Linked DNA regions of Homo sapiens: region 1 is linked to region 2. Evidence: promoter capture Hi-C in 16 types of primary human blood cells and fetal thymus (Javierre and others, 2016). All regions are on one chromosome and are shown on one strand. Each heading gives the region's core, a stretch centred on a gene start or on the middle of the fragment in contact. The rest is flanking DNA. Distances are from core to core; before and after follow the strand shown. Region 1 overlaps RBFOX1 (RNA binding fox-1 homolog 1). Region 2 holds the start of RBFOX1 (RNA binding fox-1 homolog 1).

The links. The method cuts DNA at HindIII sites, captures the fragments that hold promoters and counts their contacts. A CHiCAGO score of 5 or more calls a contact.
Region 1: a contact is called between a fragment that was not itself captured here and the fragment with the promoter of RBFOX1 in region 2, in 1 of 17 cell types (erythroblasts). The highest score is 5.0, in erythroblasts.

Annotation. Positions count from the first base shown.
Region 1 is chr16:6,606,500-6,609,593 of GRCh38, forward strand. The region is part of intron 2 of RBFOX1 (RNA binding fox-1 homolog 1); the gene reads left to right. Among named protein-coding and RNA genes, the nearest start is that of RBFOX1, 590 kb to the left of the region's middle. The HindIII fragment of the contact is 1,331 bases long and covers 649-1,979 here.
Region 2 is chr16:6,017,637-6,020,336 of GRCh38, forward strand. RBFOX1 (RNA binding fox-1 homolog 1) reads left to right here and starts at 1,388. Exons shown (of 16, transcript NM_018723.4): 1 at 1,388-2,356. The HindIII fragment of the contact is 5,499 bases long and covers 228-2,700 here.

The DNA of each region.
Region 1 (3,094 bases), core at 64-2,563, 590 kb after region 2:
ATCCTGATGCTTTCCCTCCTCCTTCCCCTCTACGAGGCCCCATTGTGTGTAGTTCCCCTCCCTGTGTCCATGTGTTCTCATTGTTCAGCTCCCACCTGGAAGTGAGAACATGTGGTGTTTGGTTTTCTGTGTTAGTTTGCTAAGGATAATGGCTTCCAGTTCCATCCATGTCCCTGCAAAAAACATCTCATTCCTTTTTATGGCCGTATAGCATTCCATGTTGCATATGTACCACGTTTTCTTTATCTGGTCTATCATTGATGGGCATTTTGGTTGACTCCACGTCTTTGCTACAGTGAATAGTGCTGCAGTGAACATACGCGTGCATGTATCTTTATAATAGAATGATTTGTATTCCTTTGGGTATATACCCAGTAATAGGATTGCTGGGTCAAATGGTGTTTCTTGTTCTGAATCTTTGAGGAATCACCACACTGTCTTTCACAATGGTTGAACAAATTTACATTCCCACTAACAGTGTAAAAGCATTCCTATTTCTCCAGAGCCTTGTCAGCATCTGTTGTTTCTTGACTTTTTAATAATCGCCAAAAATGGCTATACATTTTTTAATATACCTGAGGCTGCTGCCTTCCAAACCTACTGACTAATAGTCCCTGAGAGTGGAAGTCAGCACTCTGCATTTTAGCAAGCTTCCTAGAGAATTTGTGGGTGAACAGATGAGTGTTCATCTGACTACTGATTGGGGACAATGACAGAAAGATATCAGAATGTGCTTTGAACCATCTTGGAACAATTCATTGTGGTTATTAGGATTAAAAGGGAAGAGAAATGTCAGCTCTCATATTCACATCCCTTAAAAATCAAGCATTAGGATATAATAATTCATTTAATATAAATGTTATAACCATATGACCAATTTCCAGTTATCATAAGCAGTTAGGTCTTTCAGTCTCTCTCCTCTCTCTCTCTCTCTCTCGCTCTCTATCTCTCTTCCTCTCTCTCTTCCTCCTCTGTCTCTCCTTACTCTTTCTTCCTCTCTCTCCCCTCTCTTCTCTCTCCTATCTATCTCCTCTCCCTCTTTCTTCCTCCTCTTTCCCTCTTCCTCCTCTCTCTCCGTCCTGTCTCCCTCCTCTCTCTCTCTCCTCTCTCTTTCTCTCTCTTCTTCCTCCTCTATCTCTCCTCTCTCTTTCTGTCTTCTTCCCTCTCTGTATTATGTCTGCCTATGTGGGCATGTGAGTGTGCAAATAAGAAATAATTATTTTAGAATTTTGTGGTTTCCCCCTGCTGTATATGGTTCCAAAATTCAGTGTCTACAACATAGCTCCCGAATAATGTTTCACATCCTAATGAGCGATCATAGAATGGGAGAACAAACTTAACATGACTTACATCCTCATTTAGCCTTTAAAATTCTCTTTGTCCACAAACCTCCTTGTTTCTGGAGTTGGCAACATACTGAAATAGAATATATACAAACTTGGAAACAGCTATGAGCTTGACCTAAAACCTTAACTCTGACCCTTTACTGGGAAGGCTTTGGTAGGTGATACATCCTCTGTAATATTTTATCTTCTACATCAAAAAAGTCCTTCATTGTACAGAATTTTGAGAGAAATTAATGAGACAATGTCTCATAGCACCTGAAACAACGGGTTCTCAAGAAATACTATTTCATTGATTACTCCTCACTTTCTTAACTCTTACCAGACCTATTTTGAGTCTGTATCCTTGGTATCATCATTTTTTCTCAAATTATTTCTAAGGCAGCATTGGTTTGTGTTATAATCATTAATAGATACCTGAATTAAGTGAAATATTTCAAAGTAAAGCCATATAGTATCCTGTGGGGAAAAGCCTATCTTTTGAGCCAGAAAGACTGGCTTAAATCCCAGTATTATTGTTCACCTCTTTGTGGGTTTTGTTTATATGTTTATACACATTAGTTTTACCATCTGCAAAATGGGGATAACAGTTTTCACCCTTATTCGTTTCCTGTTACTATTTCCCAAATTGTCACAAGCTTAGTGACTTAAAACAACAGAAATTGCCCAGGTATGGTGGCTCACATGTGTAATTCTAATATTTTGGAAGGCTGAGGTGGGAGAATCGCTTGAGACCAGGAGTTTGAGATGAGCTTGGGCAACATGGCAAGACCCCATCTCTACAAAAATTAACTAGTCATGGCGGCACATGCCTGTGGTCTCAGGAGGGTGAGGTAGAAGGATGACTTGGGTCCAGGAGTTTGACGCTACAGTGAGCCATGATTGTACCACTGCATTCTAACCTGTGCATCAGAGCAAGAGCTTGTCTCAAAAACAAACAAAAACAGAAGTTGGTCATCTCATAGTTGTAGAGATCAGAAGTCTGCAGTGTGTCTCACTGGACTAAAATCATGGTGCCAGCAGGGCTGTTTTTTTCTTGAGCCTGTAGAGGAGATCTTTTTTCTTGCCCTTCCCAACTTTTAGAATCCACTCTGCTCCCTTGGGTCACAGCCTTTTCCAAGTTCAAAGCCAGCCATGGCCAGGCAAGCCTTTCTTCCATCAGGTCACTCTGACCTGACCCTTCTGTCTCCCTCTCCCATATTTGAAGACCCTTGTGATTACCTGGAGCCCATCTTGATGATCCTGAATAATTTCCCTATTTAAGGTCTGCTAATCAGCAACCTTGATTCCCTTTTACCATGTCATATGATACATTCGCAGGCTCCAGGACAGACATGGACATCTTTAGGGGCCACAATTCTGCCTTCCACAGCCACTTTATAGATGGTTGTTGGGATTACTGGGAAGATGTAGTAAAGTTCTTAGCACAGTGGCTGGGTATGGAGTGTAGTATGTTCTGTAGATGGAGAGGTTGACGTGGAAAATGATTTTCTTTTTTCTCTTTTTTATTTTTATTTTTTGAGACAGGGTCTCACTCTGTTGTCCAGGCTGGAGTGCAGTAGTGCAGTCTCAGCTCACTGCAATCTCCTCTGCCTCCCAGGCTCAATCCTCCCACCTCAGCCTCCCGAGTAACTGGGACAACAGGTGCATGCCACCACACTTGGCTAATTTTTGTATTTTTTGTAACAACGGGGTTTCACTACATTGCCCAGGCTGGTATGATTTTTCTAAAATCAAGGCATTTCCTTAAT
Region 2 (2,700 bases), core at 138-2,637:
GATTTTGCAAACTTACTTTTTCAAATGATGATTAAATATTGCGTGCTTTAAAAAGTAATATAGTTATAGGCAGAAGTTCCCTTTCTTTTATTCTGAGGTTGAAAGAAACCGCAGCCCGATAGGATTGCAAGAGGAACCCTTAAGGAATCTGCTCCTTGATGGGCGCTAGGAAATACACGTACATCTAGTACAAAGGAATGCACATCACATGGCCCCCTGTTTTGGAAAGCTTACAGCATTTCTTATAAGAGGATCCATGGTATAAGTGCAAACACAGTCACATCACAGGATGGGAAAATGAACAGGCGCCTCAGATCAAGTGCTCAAGGCTGGAATCTGGCCTTGTCCAATGCCACCTGCCCTTCAGAAGGCAGGGTGGTGCCACATAAAATGAGGTAGACTGCCTGGGGAGTCCTGGTTCCTTGCCAGCTATGTGACCTTGAACAAATTACAACTCACTGAACCTCAGACTGACTTTATTGTACAACAAAACCCCCTGGAATATTTGTGGAAAAAAGAGGAAGGGAGAAAGGAAGGAAGGGAGGAAAGGAGGAAGGAAGAAAGGGAGGGAGGAAGGAAGGGAGGGAGGGAAAGGAAAAGGTAGGGGAAGAGCAGAGTTTCTCACTCCAGTCCAGAGTGGGACCCAGGAAGGGAGAAATATTGCTTTAATCTCTCTAAGCATCTGTGAAATGGATAAACCTCCAGTATCTACTTCCAGTTGTTGAAAAGACTCCATGTAAAGTGCTTAAAACAGCATCTGGTGGAAAGTAAATGCTTATTAAGTGCTAGTGTGTATTAAGGCGTCATGGGGCTTCTGGCTGTAAGACATCTGCTAGGAGGACAATCCCTAGACCCCTTCAGCGTCCATTGCGGGAGTAGGTGGCCAGGAAGGGGGCAGGACAGGAGAGGCCCAGCTGTGCGGGGTGGGGGCGTCCCAGGCCAGCCGCACCCACCCCAGCCCTGCATCCCATCCAGCCTGGAGAACTTTTTGAATCTTGGATAGGGCTCGATCTCTGCCTGGCCGGAAGATTTGAAGACTTGCCAGAAAACTTCCTCAGAGAAGAAATGGACTGGGGCAAGAAGCTGCCTCCACTTGGCGTCTCTAGTGGGGGATTTGTCTACTTTGATTGGGGTTGGGAGGAGGGCGCTGGTGCTCAATGAGTGAGCCCACCTGGGGACTACCAGGACGAGGACGGGCGCAGGTGAAAGTCCTGGGCTCATTGCCCCAGCATCCAACTTTCACCCTCTGTCCCCTTTAGGCCAGGAGACCAGGGTACCGGGTCGCGTGTCCGCCGCCGCCGCCCGCTGGAATCCAGGGCTGCACGCGTGACCGCGGCGGCGGCGGCGCTGGCGAGGGGAAGGGGGAGGGGGCGCTCCCTCGCGCACCAGATTATTTTTGGCTCCGCAGCCGGGGCTGCTCGCTGCTTGTCGCGCGCTCACACACACACAGACACACACGCACACACACACATGCACACATTTTCTCGCGCTCTCTCCGGCTCTCCTTTGTTTATTTTCTAATCTATATTTTTACTGGAAGATTTCCTCTTTATTCTCTCCCGCCCTCCTACAAGCGCTCTTGCTGGCCGTCTGGGTGCACACACCGCTCCCTCGATCACCCCAGCCCCCTTCCTGGTCTCCCGAGCGCGGGGTTTGAAGGTCACCTCCTTTCCAGTCCCCGTGCGAGCCGCGCTGCCGCCGCCTCCTCCAGCCAGAGTCGGTGGGACTGGCTGCGCTGCCCTGAAGTGGTTCTCCAAGCAGCGCGGAGGGTGGCGGACGGCGGACGGAGCCCAGGGGCCGCGTCGGGTGGGGAAACCCGAACTCGCGGAGGGGAATCCCTCCCCCTCCGCCCCAGCCCCCCAGCAGCACCCGCGGTGGGGCGGGGGCGCTCTGCCAGCCCCGGGAACAGCAGAGGCGGCGGCACTGGCTGGACCCACGCGCGCGCCTCCGGGGCTGAAGAAGGAAGGAGTGAGCCGAGCCGAGCACCCCACATCTGGAGGGGACAGCCAGCCGTGGGCCCCGCCCCGGCGTCCGGAGCAGGAGAACTCCGAGCTTCTTGCCCAGGCAGAGAGAGCAGGAGCGGACCGCGCGCCCGGGATTGAGAGTCCTTGCGCTCCAGACCCCCACCCAGTGGCCGCCAGGGTCCCCGCCTGTCCGGACCCTCGCCGCGCCCAGGCAGGCGCGCCAGGGCGGGGCTGACCTGCCCGCGAAGTTGCGGACAGTGCGTGAGAAACCAGCACCCCCTTCCGCCGCCTCCAGCTTATGGTGAGTGTGGCTGGGGGTGCAGAGAGCGCACGGGAATTCGGGGGTCTGGGGCCGAGAACGTGACCGCAGCCGGGCTCGCCGGGAGTTCTAGGTAAGTCCAGGCGGAGTCATTGCCTCTGCACCCACCCTGACCTGGTGGGTCAGGTCCAGAAGGTCTCATGGAGGGAAGCGCTAGGTCCCCGAGAACTGGCCTCCTCCTAGCGCCAGTCTGGGCGCTCTGGACGGGAACTTTTTCAGGGTGTGTGGAAAGATCTCGAGGCGTGTCCCCCCCTACCCCCAGGAGGCCGAGACCCTGAGCCCCCTTGTGCGTCGCTTCCAGAAGCACGTCCTTCCTTGCCCCAGAGCGCCCCTCCGAAGCATCCAGGCTACCTCGTCCGTCCTCCTGGGAGCGAGTCCTAGGTGCCAGGAGCAGCGGGAGCCTGCCTGCGCACTTTG